Linked DNA regions of Homo sapiens: regions 1, 2, 4 and 5 are each linked to region 3. The links are contacts of gene promoters, found by promoter capture Hi-C in blood cells and fetal thymus (Javierre and others, 2016). All regions are on one chromosome and are shown on one strand. The core of a region is centred on a gene start or on the middle of the fragment in contact, and the rest is flanking DNA. Distances in the headings are between cores, read along the strand shown. Region 1 has its middle 150 kb from the start of LINC02836. Region 2 has its middle 170 kb from the start of LINC02836. Region 3 holds the start of ATG5 (autophagy related 5). Region 4 has its middle 99 kb from the start of LINC02836. Region 5 has its middle 23 kb from the start of CD24.

Evidence for each region. The method cuts DNA at HindIII sites, captures the fragments that hold promoters and counts their contacts. A CHiCAGO score of 5 or more calls a contact.
Region 1: a fragment that was not itself captured here is called in contact with the fragment with the promoter of ATG5 in region 3 in 1 of 17 cell types (neutrophils); the score reaches 5.1 in neutrophils.
Region 2: a fragment that was not itself captured here is called in contact with the fragment with the promoter of ATG5 in region 3 in 1 of 17 cell types (neutrophils); the score reaches 5.8 in neutrophils.
Region 4: a contact is called between a fragment that was not itself captured here and the fragment with the promoter of ATG5 in region 3, in 1 of 17 cell types (activated CD4 T cells). The highest score is 5.4, in activated CD4 T cells.
Region 5: a contact is called between a fragment that was not itself captured here and the fragment with the promoter of ATG5 in region 3, in 8 of 17 cell types (neutrophils, M0 macrophages, M1 macrophages and 5 more). The highest score is 12.6, in neutrophils.

Annotation. Positions count from the first base shown.
Region 1 is chr6:105,779,339-105,782,038 of GRCh38, forward strand. No RefSeq gene overlaps it. Among named protein-coding and RNA genes, the nearest start is that of LINC02836, 150 kb to the left of the region's middle. RefSeq lists a silencer at 1,162-1,362. The HindIII fragment of the contact is 935 bases long and covers 982-1,916 here.
Region 2 is chr6:105,798,570-105,801,269 of GRCh38, forward strand. No RefSeq gene overlaps it. Among named protein-coding and RNA genes, the nearest start is that of LINC02836, 170 kb to the left of the region's middle. The HindIII fragment of the contact is 1,781 bases long and covers 374-2,154 here.
Region 3 is chr6:106,324,439-106,327,138 of GRCh38, forward strand. It overlaps ATG5 (autophagy related 5), which reads right to left and starts at 1,322. Exons shown (of 8, transcript NM_004849.4): 1 at 1,088-1,322. RefSeq lists enhancers at 1,132-1,181, 1,202-1,521. The HindIII fragment of the contact is 6,577 bases long and covers 1-2,700 here.
Region 4 is chr6:105,729,779-105,732,478 of GRCh38, forward strand. No RefSeq gene overlaps it. Among named protein-coding and RNA genes, the nearest start is that of LINC02836, 99 kb to the left of the region's middle. The HindIII fragment of the contact is 443 bases long and covers 1,173-1,615 here.
Region 5 is chr6:106,996,066-106,998,888 of GRCh38, forward strand. No RefSeq gene overlaps it. Among named protein-coding and RNA genes, the nearest start is that of CD24, 23 kb to the left of the region's middle. The HindIII fragment of the contact is 1,264 bases long and covers 915-2,178 here.

The sequences.
Region 1 (2,700 bases), core at 199-2,698, 540 kb before region 3:
AGTTTATTAACGACACGTTCTATGTGGTAACTATTTGCAGATGATCATAAAATATATCCCCGACAGTCATTTCTTTTGGTTGTTATTGTTTTCAAAGTTTCATCTCTAAAATCTCTTAAAACCACTTGCCCAGCTGTGCTGAAAACAACTTACAATCAGACAATTATTTAACCCTAAGCAGGCATAAGGAGGAAGGACAATATGGTTTGAAGGTTTCTGCTCCTATATGTTGGAACCCAGCACAAAGAGGGATGCTTGCTACTTCCAAGAACCTGCACAAATAATTTGGATCATGATAAGATCACTCTGAATTGGTTATGCCCATCTAACTTAGATCATTGGATAAAATTTCGAACCCAAGAATCTTGACATGAGAGCTCACCTGATGATGCTTAATTGATGATATATTACCATCCAATGCCACCTGACTTATTCCTGAACAGGAGCAGGACTGGCAGGGAGGTGGGGGTAATAAAGGTGGAGGCCGATTATATTCAACTGTACTTAATCTCAGTGGCAGTGAAAGGGCCCTTCATTTGAATCAATTAAAAAAAACCTGCAGGGAAGAACGAGACCTTAAGGAGTCTTAAAATATCATCAGTGATAAAATATCATCAGTCAAGTGGGCTGTAGGTAATATGCTACTATCAACCCCCAGTCTATAGATGAACCAACCAAACCAAAAGAGATTAAGCAACTTGGACGGTGAAGCTAATAAAAGGGAAAGGAATATAGTGACCAAACCCAAGAAGCCCAGAGTGTTCTCGGTGCTGTATCGCTTGGGGCTTTCCTCATCTTTGTTTCTATTATTCAAGAATATAGTGTGTGTTACAAGTCAGGTATCAAATGTGTAAATAGGTATCGTGCCTGAAAGAAATATGTCCCGATGACCTGTAGGACTGGATTGTCTGAATTACAGTCCTTGCGACTGAATCCAGTTGGCGTGATGTAAGCATAAACGCACTCCACGTTTCATGAATAAGCTTAACGATAACAGAAAATACTTTCCTTCAGATTGCCTGGTGATTAAGGTAGTGGACATCTACCAAGCTCACGCTTAGGGAGGACGAACAACAGGTTTATCAACACTATACTTCACGGAGTGTCAGTCATGAGGTTTTCATGGAGAAGCCAGTTGTTTTGTTTGTTTTCTTAATGACATATTTTCATGTAGTTGGGAAGGGGTGTGCCCATTCAGAGCTTGACTATGACACCAGGAAGTAGAGCATTAGAGTGAAACCCATGAGACAATGACCTTAAGTACAGGTGGTTGCCACAGTGTCTATTATTAGGATCAGTGAAATACACTCAGAAGTCGTGTTGCAAGATGGCAGGATGGAAGGCCAGTTTCCCCTGACAAAGTGCAAAGGCATGCTATAAACACTTGCATGAACAAACAGCCTTTGCAGCAACCACAACCAGGAGGAAAATTAGAGGACATTTTCCACAACAAAAGCAGTATTGTTTTCCTGTGGTCACTCTGAAATTCATCCTTTGTTGCAGAAGACGCTGAGGCTCCATCATGGAACTGTGGCATCCCACCCAGCATTCTCCCTGTGGGCCGAAGTGATGGGATAAATTGATTCACAGCGAACTGTTCCTTCTGGCTAGGGATCCCACATCTTCAGTTCAATAGGAAAGAGTTCTCCAAAGAACAATGAGGTATAGTGGGCCAAGCCGATCAAGCAGACGTGGTACATCCAATTCTCTCTCAGGGGCTGGGACCCTGGCTGACCTAAGCCAGGACGACTACCTCTGGGCTCCCATTTCCTCATCTTCATGGTGGGGCTCCCCATGCCGGTCCTTAGTAACGATATTTTTACTATATATATGCATATAGCTCTTCCATAAGGCTTCTCCTAATTTTTATTTTTTAAGGTATGGAAGCCAAAACCTGTTTGCTAAGGGAAATGAAAAGCTTACAAGAAAACACATTTTGGTTGTGTAACAGACACGGACGATGCCAGACAACTGTCTGGGTTCATGTAAAGTCAGAGGGGGAATTACACAAACAGGGATAACAGGGAATCTCGGTAAAGCCTCCTGCCGGAGAGGCCTCCATCATCCTATGACTCCACAAATGCTCTCTCCCCACCCACTCCCGCCCCCAGTTGGGAGGTGAGTCATCTCTGCCGTTTCATCAAGGTGTGCCTAGACTGATTTTTGCCTTCTCGGTATCAAAGTACATGTGATTCAAGAACATTTGTTAATTCAACAAGGATGTGTATGAATCTCTTAAGTTCTCTGGCAGAATGGGATGGGGCATAAAAAAGTAATACTATTATAATTTAGTAAGCTCTAACAACATGCTAGACACCGAGGGTATAAAAGGTGAATAAGACCTGGACCCAGGTTTCAAGGGGCTCAAGATCTAGTGAGAAGCCTGACAGGTGAACAGATCACACAGGGTCAACACTACACTAGAAGTAGCCACAGAGTGTGCAGAAGACACAAGACATTGCCTACAATCCAAAGGCATGTTTATGCCATTTCTGCCATCTGTTTTTGGACCGGCAGAAATTCTTGAGAAAAGCATGTGGTTTTCAGAGGGTCCCCACCCTATCCCCCTTTACCTGGTCAGGTAAAAATGAAAGAAAATAATACAGGTGGAGTTCTGAGTGACACGATTTGCTGTAAGTTCAGTTAAGCTAGGAAAGCTCATTTCTAAAGAACTTCCTGTAAACAAGGTCCATGACTGTC
Region 2 (2,700 bases), core at 14-2,513, 530 kb before region 3:
CATTACAGAATGAAAACTTGCATGTTATATATGATGCTTATGTATTTGCACATAAATATATATTTACATGTGATATCGATATATCCGCTTATGCATAGATTATATAGGTCTAAATGGACAAAATACAATTCTCAAGCTGTGGGTGACAGGCTTTTTGTCTGTTACTCTGTTGCGTACCTTTGCACTCTCATCCCTTATAGGAAAGGAACTACAACTAGGGATTTGAGGGTCATTAGAACATTGTGCCCACCCCCCAGGGTGGATAGCACACAGGACACATAGTATATATAGGATAAGGATGCTTCAGTCCTGTAGGGAGTAAATTCTTTCCTTAGCTCTTACAATACCACAACAGGTCAATCAGGTTGTAAGAAGCTTTAATTAGCTGTTCTACAAATTAGAGCATTCTTCAAGCTCAAAAAGATGTTTTCCATCTTGACACCATCTAAAGGAAAATCTTGAACAAAAGACTCACTCTCAATCTGGTTCATATTCTGTCATTTACTTCTATGGGATTAAAGCAAAACAAAAGCACTTTTTTTAAACTCTCTATACAGAGTGTACTATAATTGGATTCCTTGTTCCTCTTCCAAGCCAAGGCATTGGATCTGCATTGTTTCTGCCAAGTTTTTTCTCCACGCTGCAATGTCCTTGTTTGTGTTCTCTCCCAGTGTTCCAGGTTCTACTGTCAACCCAGGCTCAGGCTGTCCCACATCCTCCCACAGAGGTCTTGCTTTGTTTTGAGAAATGCTCAACAGAAGGAGGAAGTCCAGCATATCCACGGTGCAACTGAAATGCCACCCTAGGAAGACTAAGGCCTCATGGTGGGTGACAGCTGAGGTGACAGCTGAAGATGAGGCTGGCTGAGGGAGGACAATCCCACCAAAGTATAGCGGACACCAGCAGTCTCTCTAGGCTCCCAACAGTCCTAAGGCTGAAGAGACTGTGAACAGGTCTGCACAAAGCCTACAAGCAAAGAAAGTCATAAGCCTTAGGTTTCCCTGCAATGACTTTCTGCAGTAGGTGGAGGAAGGGAAGAAAAAACCTATCTCCATGGAAAAACCACCTTATAAGTCTTTCTATAAATTGCAGTAGAACAAAGGAAAAGTATATGCTCCTGCTGATTAACCATTTCTTTCAGAGGGATGTGGAAGAGTAGGAAACAGTATTGTAATAAAATCAAAACCTTATTTATTCTGCAAAGGTTACAAATCCATTTGACATTAGATAATTCCTTAATGAGGTGGTCAAAACAAAAACAAGTTGGTTAAATTACTGTTCTAATTTTCAAAAGAATGCTTTCAGTGAAAAGATTTCTTTATGAACACATAATGAGGTTGGTGTTTTGTTACTTGGTTAATACAACTGAAAGAGCACACCAGAAGATTCTGTACACCCACATCAATGGTCGCTGCAATGGCCCAGGATGACCACAGTGTGTTCCAATCATCATCTCCTCCCTACCCAACTCCACTCTCCTGACTCTGGGCTATGGCCAATACTGGCCTAGTTGACTTTCTTTGTCTCCTTTCCAAAAGCAACCGACTCTTCTCAGTGTGCCTCCCAGAGCATCATTCCAAGTATCACTCCTGATCCTCTCATCAGTGTCCCAGTAACAGAGTCACAACCAAGAGATCTCATCAGGACTATCTGCTCCAGGGGATAGGCCAGGCTGAGCTTGGCAGACACACCATATAGAGGCCTGGAGCTTCAGGGGCTTCTAGAACCACTCTCGCTTCCTGAGGCCCCCCCAAGAGGGGAACACTTTTCATCTCTGTACCCACCACCTTCATTCACATTCACATGAAATGTTTTGGAACCATTTAACTTCTACTCCCCCAGCCAGCACCTAAGCAAGATGAAAATTGACTTTAATAACATGGGCATTCATTTAAAAAAAAAATCTATTGAGAACCTACTCTGAAAAGCACTGTGCTAGGTGCTAAGGATACAGAAATGAAAAGACAAGTAGATCAAGGTGGTGGGTGTTAACAATAGTCACTAAGGTCATGCCAGTTCCTTTGTTCTGACTCTGATCATTACTAAACTCTTAGTTTTATATGGGCTTTAAAACACTTAGACAGCCTGATCTCACTTGATCTTCATGACAATCTTGTCGGAAAAGGATTGTTCATTGGTAGATGAAGAAACTGAAGCTTAAGAGGTAGTGAGTGATTTAACCCCAAGTCACATAGCTAGTAAGTGCTAAGATCGGGAATGATACTTGAAATTTATAACTATAAATCCACTGCTTGCTGCGTGCATCATCCAGCCTCTTCAGGGTCAAGGTGAGAAGTATTTTTCCAAGAAATATTCTGGCAGTAACAGCAACAAACAAGTCTTGAACACCTACCATATGCAAAACCTGTCCTGACCTCTGGGAAGAAGATGTCACAATACAAAGATGAATGCAATATTGTCCCTACTCATGGGAGTTAAGTGTAGGTGAGAAAAGTCACTGGCTGTGAACAACTAATTCAAGAAGTTAATGATTTGGTGGAAAGGGAAAGAGAAAGTATTGTGTGGAGGTCGGAACCTAAAGGATCCAGACTGAACTCTGGCATTATGTTTGGGAGCTGCTATCTTTACAGCTCATCCCAACTACTCTCAGGCCAAAAAACAGGAAGCAAATATACAGTTTTCCATGCAGACTTTTCTACAGTAGAGAAAGTGTGCAGTCCCACCGACACACATAATCTG
Region 3 (2,700 bases), core at 72-2,571:
TGCCGAGGGACAGGAAAGACTGTACCTTAATTTTTGTATCAATGTCTTCTCACCCCATCCCCAAAGTGGAACTTCATGATGGCAGGGATTTTTATTCTTTTGTTTACTATTTTGTTTACTGTTTTGTCCAGTGCCTAACACATAGGAGGTACTCAGTTTGGGGGAAATTAATGAAATAAATACACACTTGAGGTGTGTGCACTATTCTAAAAATCCATATCCATACAGTTCCATTCTGTACACTTTCCCCCAATTTTAAGTAGCATATCTTTGAAGATAAAAGCACAGGCTTAAATCTGGTGTAAAATACCTCTCAATTACTACCCTGAGCACAACATCGTTATTTTCAAATTCAAAATTCAACCAGAAACTCCCTCTATGGAAATCACAAATAGTTCAGTTCAGAGCCAAGTATCCAGTTTCAAGGTCTCAGAAATTTAACAAGCCAATTCTGGAAGGCTTTGGAAGTTCAGCTACTGTCTGGTAAGTCTCCGGGTTCTGATTGCTCAAGACAGGCTGTACCTCCTCACCCCTCAGAAAAATCTAGAACCAATAGTTTCCTAGGTTCCTCAAGTTCAGGATAATTTTAAAATAATCCAAAGTACAAATGAAGTATGTAAAAGTGTCTTGCCAACAGAAAATGTCTTTGGTAGCACTAAATATTGTTATTGAGACAGGGAATATCGTAAATAGATAAATTGCTTGGAGGACATACCCACCGAGTTTGGACAGACTCACACTGCACTGTGCAATAAAGGTTTAAATAACTGTGTTCCACAAACAATTCAGGTCCTGAACTGAACTCTAGAGCCTGCGACTAGACTCTCGCTTTCCTACCTTAGTAAGCAACAGACATGTACCCCAAGAGGGACCCCGCAGGCCACACCCGCCAACCGGCCCCAGGGCTCCGGGCCGGCGTCTCGCCAACTCCACCTTGCCCGGAGGAACCACCTTCACCCGCCATCGCGGCCGGGCGGGCGCTCCTCCAGGCAACTACTCACCCCTCCTTCCTACCACACCTACCTGGCCCCTCCCCAGCCCTCCTCCTCTAGGAATTTCCTCACACAAGGTGGACACACACACGTACCCTACTCCAAGCTATGGCTCCTCCTTCCGGCTCCCCGCACTGGTGGGGACGCCCAGATTCCGCGCTCCGGTGGGGCGGCGGGGCAAGCTGCCCGCCTGACACACTGTCCTGCGGGGACGCGGTAGCAGGACTCCAGGAAGCCCGCGCAGCCGCAAAAAGCACCGGCGCGGAGGTCGGAGCTGAACCCTGCTGCACTTCCGCCCTCTGGTATCCAGCGAATACAACCGGCAACGCTGCGGAGCCCTGGCAGCGCACCACAAGTCCAGTCACCCTCGGCGCCCGGAGATGACGTCACGAGACCCCACGTGGTCCGAACTCCGCCCTCCGTGTTCTGCCTAACCCAGCAAGGAGGCCCGAGTCGCTCTTGAGCATGCGCCAACGGGGCAGTACGCTTGAACTCGCGACCAAACCTCTCCAAGTTCATAGCTTCTACCCTCTTCTGAGAATCTTGCGTCAAAGCGTAGTTATTGGGGCTTGGGGAGGTTAACTTAACAGTTCCACAAAAACAGTTTTTAAAATACTGAAACACTGCCTCCCTAGAGCTTGATCGCAACATCCCTTTCTTCCTGGCATCACACAACAGTATTAATAAAACATTAGTTTTCAAAGTACTTTCCCATCCATTTTCTTATTTGATCTTCTTCTCTACTTTGTTGGAACCACCGCAGGCATTAATAACCTAATTTAACAGAAGACTATATGAGCACTGAACCCTCCCACCCATCCAAGAGTACATATCTTTATCTTACTCTTTGTAAAAATAATTGGGGCCGGGCGCGGTGGCTCACGCCTGTAATCCCAGCACCTTGGGAGGCCGAGGCGGGCGGATCACGAGGTCAGGAGATCGAGACCATCATGGCTAACACGGTGAAACCCCGTCTCTACTAAAAATACAAAAAAAATTAGCCGGGCGCGGTGGCGGGCTTCTGTAGTCCCAGCTACTGGAGAGTCTGAGGCAGGAGAATGGCGTGAACCCGGGAGGTGGAGCTTGCAGTGAGCCAAGATAGGGCCACCGCAGTCCCGCCTGGGCGAAAGAGCGAGACTCCGTCTCAAAAAAAAAATAGTAATAATTGGTAAACTTACTAATAAAGAATCTTTGAATTGGCTCTATCCAGAAGTCTTAGCAGGCATTTAAGGTTTTTCTCTTAATTACACGTGCCTTAACGCCATGCATGTTAAGTAAGTACTGTGCTGAGACTCAAAACAGGTTCTTGATAATTGGGAACATAAGGAAAATTCTAGTAGTAGCCACAGGATTCTTTTAAAAAGAAAAATCTTCTTGGAGTTGGACTAAGTACAATGATTTTCAAATGGTAAATTACAGTACATTAGTGGGTATCTAAATCAAGTTAGGGAAGCATGCCCAGCATCTTTTTAAATGAAATAAAATAGAAAATATCAGCATGCTTCACACATGTAAAGGGTAAATATTGTGTCCCAAAATTTTTACTTCAGTATGTATGTGGTGTACACTGGATAGGAATGTGAAATACATTTCTTAGTAAGGGTAGCAGTCAGAAAAGTTTGAAAGCCACAGTTATGGTCCTCTTCACCTACTCAATGCAGAAATCCTCACTACAGTGTCCCCAGTAAACAGCTATTAGCCTCTGTAA
Region 4 (2,700 bases), core at 144-2,643, 590 kb before region 3:
ATAAAGCAAACGTACAAAAAGCTAACATAAACTACAGAAAACCTTTGACCTCAACCAAAGGGAGATTCAGATCTTTAGATTTCAAAAGTTTATCAAGTATGAGGTAAAATTAATGAAATGACTTAACTTGGCCAACCTTTGAATTTTAATGGGAAAGAAAAATCCTACAAGCCACATGTAGGGAGATGAACAAAATCTTGTTTCCCAGAAAAGGGATATTTTCCAGGTATCATTCCCGTCATCCCCTGCAACAAAAAGTCCTCAAATTCTCTACTCATTCCTATTATTTCTAATGTATATAAACAACAGAAAGACCTATTCTTGGACATACAAAGATAAACAAAGACCAGAAATCATTTATCTTTTCTGATATTTTGAAGTGAAAATATACACCAGCTGACTTAGAAATTAATAAAAAGAACAAACTCAAAACCTAGTTATAAAACCTAATACAAATGTCAAGAGAGTGTAAATAATGTAAAGAATTATTAGAGCATAATAAAAATAAGGGTAGTAAGTCAACTGAGCAAGGAAAAGGAGGAAATCAAAGAATGCTCAATGTTTTATTTCATACCAGGACATTAATAACTTTACATAAACAGCCTTAAAAAGATATAAAATATTAATACAGGATAAGCTAGCATCTCAAATCATCAAAGGAAAAATGAATTACTCAACAACTGGTTAAAACTACCATCTAAATCTGTGGGAAAACAGAAAATCAAATTGACACAATATATAAGGTACCAAAATGAATCCCAGATGGATTAAATATTGAAACGCAAAATATAAAACCATAATGAGGGCTATATGCAGTGGCTCATGCCTGTAATCCAGCACTTTGGGAGGCTGAGGCAGGAGGATCACTTGAGACCAGGAGTTTGAGACCAGTCTGGGCAACATAGTGAGCCTCTGTGTCTACGAAATTAAAAAAAAAAAAAAAAAAGCCAGGCATGGGGCATGGTGGCATGTGCTTGTAGTCACAGCTACTTGGGAAACTGAGACGGGAACTGCTTCAGCCCAGGAGTTTGAGGCTGCAGGGAGCTATGATCATACCACTGTACATCAGCCTGGGTGACAGAATGAGACCCTGTCTCTAAAATATAAATTGTTTAAATCCCATAATTTTACAAGAATAAAAAATAAGGGACTACATAGTCTAAGGAGAGAAAAGCTTTTCAGTGTGTAACACCAGACAAAAATATAAATAAAAAGGCTGATAAATATTATAAAATCATTTTTCACTGTACTTAAAAGAAACACCATACACAAAATTTGAAAACAATAAACTAGGGGAAAATATAGAGGTTAATTATATTAATTTATATACATTTTATAAATCAGTAAGAAAATGACTATTATATCAACTTTTTAAAAAAGAGTATATTCCAGATTTTGACAAGAAAGTAATATAAATGCTTCATAAATACAGAAAAAAAATCCAACTTGATTATTTAAAAAGTAAGGCAAGTAAAAGTACAATGACATGTTCAAAAGAGCGAACAATAAATAAGGAAATGTTAATGGCATATGTTCAAAAAACCTCCGCACAGAAAAACAGATCCTCGATAAATACGTGCAGACTGTTTTCTCCCCACTACCGTCTGTTTTGCAAAGCTTTTTCTGAAAATAAGTATCAGTTTGACACGATAGGGGATATTAAGGTCAGATGATTGCTTCATTATTTACTTTAATATTGATGCTTGCCTCTGATCTTCAGTTGGCTGTCCTTAACAAGCAAAACCTATAGTCACTTTAAATACCTTAAAATGTGATTTACTGTAACTCTCTTGTAACTAAAACTGCAGACATTTAAAAGTCAATATAATTAGAAAGTTGCTTTCTGTGTATAAGTTGTATTTTCACAATTAGTGTCCCCAGTGTGCCCCACTTTGGGGCAGATCAAATTATACTACAATGTGGGTGTATTTTCCTTAAAATATTTTTTTCATTTGGAAAAGACAACTCAAAATATTATGCATATATTTTAAATTCTCTTTTCAGAAAGAAGAAAACAATGCCTCCCACTACTCCACCCAGCAGTCTCCCTCCCACCCCCTGGGGCCATGGTTACAAAATTTGAAGAAATTTTCCATTTCCAGTTTGGATGCCAGATTAATTCATTCCTCTGTTGAAGGATTCCAGGAGCTCCAGCTTGGCTCCTGGTCAATTCGAGGACACTGGGAAGGTAAGGGTCAGAACCAGGCCTAACCTAATGAAGCACGTGTCCTCTTTAGTAGGCTCAGAATGACCTGGTCCCTAGGCTCACTTGAAGATAACTAGGCTTCTCTGAGAATCCTGTGAACCTAACATCACTCGAATTTAGTATATGTGAGACTCATTTACTCCTAGATTCAATGCTCAGAGGGTTGGGTGGATTCAGATTGCCTTCAGAAAATGAGTTAAAGATCATGGAATACATTCGCTTTAGAATTAGCAGGGATGAAAGGGAAAAAAGAACAGGCTTTACAGCATCAGGTAAAATTCAAGTATAACAAACCTGTGAATCTGACAAATCATTTCATGAGAGGGTAATTTTATGGAAACAAATATAGTCCTGGAAACAATGTTCACAATCTCAAGGACCTGGGGAGAGAAGAAAACTAACAACAGGAATAAATTATACATTAGGGAAACAAACACAGTTGATGGGAAAGGAAGGTTTCACCTTCAGACAGCTCTCCCCATTTTGTTTCTTTC
Region 5 (2,823 bases), core at 297-2,796, 670 kb after region 3:
ACCCCATCTCTACTAAAAAACATACAAAAATTAGCCGGGCATGGTGGCACGTGCCCACCATGCTACTCGGGAGGCTGAGGCATGAGAATCGCTTGAACCCAGGAGGCAGAGGTTACAGTGAGCCAAGATGGCACCACTGTGCTCCAGCCTGTGAGACAGAGTAAGACTCCTTCTCAAAAAAAGAAAAAAAAATAAATCAATGGCCTTTGTTTTAAGCTAGGTGGAGGTTGCTAAGTAGAGGTTGCTGTGTGGGAGTTCCTACTAACCTGCATGCTTTCCACAAAAGGCAGTGGAACTCCTGTCCAGCCTTCCACTCTTGGACACTCCATACATAAGTCCCCTGAATAAACTCTGTCTTTTTTTTTTTTTTTTTTTTTGAGATGGAGTTTCACTATTGTTGCCCAGGCTGCAGTGCAATGGCACAATCTTGGCTCACTGCAACCTCTGCCTCCTGGGTTCAAGTGATTCTCCTACCTCAGCCCCCTGAGTAGCTGGGATTACAGGCGTGCGCCACCATGCCCAGCTCATATTGTATTTTTAGTAGAGACCAGGTTTCTCCATGTTGATCAGGCTGGTCTCAAACTCCCGATCTCAGGTGATCTGCCCCTCTCAGCCTCCCAAAGTGCTGGGATTACAGGTGTGAGCCACCATGCCCGCCCTAAACTCTATGTCTTACCCACTGTCTTCAGGTCTTTTCTTCGGTCTCTCGGTGACTGTGCCTTCCCAGTTTGCCTGTTTGGGGGCCCAGCACAACACAAGGAAGAACGCAAGCCAAGGTCTTTCTTTGCTTGGATGATTTCTATGCATTTCTCAGGACCCAGATTAGTGTCATCTCCTTGGAAAGCCATCCCTTACCCTTCAGCCTTGGTTAGGGCCTTTCTGAAGTGTCCACCCCTGCATCCCCCAAGTCCCCAAGCTTTCCTCTGTCATTGTACGTGTAACAGGGATTGCAGCTTTTTCCTCACCAGCTGAGCTCCTTAAAGAAAGGAACCACATCATGTTCATCTTCCTTTCCCCAGTACCTAGTAAAGTGCCTAGTACATAATAAGTCCTCAGCAAATGAATTTCTACACAGGAACCACCAGAATCCAAGCACAATGAGAGGAAGGCCACCTTTTACTCTAACTCCGCCTACTCACTTTATCTTGAATTTATTAACATCCTAGGCTAAGAGCCATTTTATATCTCAACAGAAACAGCAATCTTAGAAAATATCTTCAAGTAACTCTTAAATTAGGATACTATTAAGCCTCCTGGCTAATCTTAGAGCCCTTCGATGGTAGTTTTTTGATTTATATAACCAGTTTCTAAAACACATCTTCACTCACTAATAAACCGACACGTATGTGGGTCATTCTTCTGAAATTTGTGTTTTATTCTAACTGTATATGAAGACTTTGATTTGGTTGTACATGAGAATTTAATCTTTCCACTATGGTGGTAATTTTTTATTTGTCTTAGAGCCTCAGATGTGGCCACCCTGGGTACAACAGGGCATATCATTTCTGTCTCATCTGTAACCTACAGGATCAAGCAGACCTGAGCTCAGATTTCAGCTCACCCACTTCCACCACAGACTTGCCTTTCTGAGCCTCCTGTAAAATGAAAATGATCATATTTATGCTGGAGAGTGTAACAGGATGTGAACATGGAAGTCCTTTCTGTCTCCATTTCAACCGAAGCTCAAAGGCCTTCAACAAAACAAGTTCTCAGGTTCCAAAGTGAGGTGCCAAGCGCCCCCTGCAGGAACTGCAGAGCAAAGGCGCTTTCTCCTCACCCCAGTCCAGTGAGAGGTGCTCTTAGGGGAATAACGGGAGAGACAAACACTTATCTCTTAGAGTTTAGTGGAAGAAGAAAAAAGAATGAGAAATTTAAAGGTCAAGGCTGTGCCAGAGCAGGAAAGGGGCTGCATCATGGGCAGCCTGCCCATCCTCCAACGTCAGCCAGAGACACTCAGCTCTACGTTCCAGACGTGGGCTCCCAGGAGAGCTCTCTGGGGTGCATTTTGAAAGGCCCCCAACCTGAGGTGACATTCTGCCATGGGCAAGCCAGCCTCAGCAGGGGCTGGAGGCGTTCCACAGAGCAGAAAGGGGGACGCGGTCGTGTGTGGGGGGCGTCAAAAGCAAGGCAGCAGCATTGCCCCAGTCAGGCCTGTTGCCACACTGGGGGCAGAGGGAAAGCTTTCTCTCTGCCCACTGAAGGTTTGCAGAGCATAAACTGATGAAATGCAGATACACAGGAGAAAAAGGCATACGAAATTTACTTAATGTGCATAGAAGAAAATCACAAGACTATGATTACCCAGTAACCCGATGAGGCCCGGCTGCTTATATTCTTCTCCATGGGGAAAGGGAGACAGGGGTTGTAGGAGTAAATGATTTCCAAAGGAAATGAATGAGCCAAAGAACGATGGCTGGGGACAAAGTTCCTTTGAGCACTGGGGAAGGCGGCAGGAAGGTGAGGGGTGGACTATTACTGTGAACAAGTGTTCTTTTTTTTTTTTTTTTTTTTTGAGACAGAGTCTCACTCTGTCACCCAGGCTGGAGTGCAGTGGCATGATCTTGGCTCACTGCAACCTCCACCTCCCGGGTTCAAGCAATTCTCCTGCCTCAGCCTCCCCAGTAGCTAGGACTACAGGTGCGCACCACAACGCCCGGCTAATGTTTGTATTTTTAGTAGAGACGGGGTTTCACCATGTTGGTCAGGCTGGTCTCAAACTCCTGACCTCAGGTGATCCACCTGCCTCAGTCTCCCAAAGTGCTGGGATTACACACACACATGAGCCACCGCCCAGACCATCAATGTTGTCTTATTATGCAGATA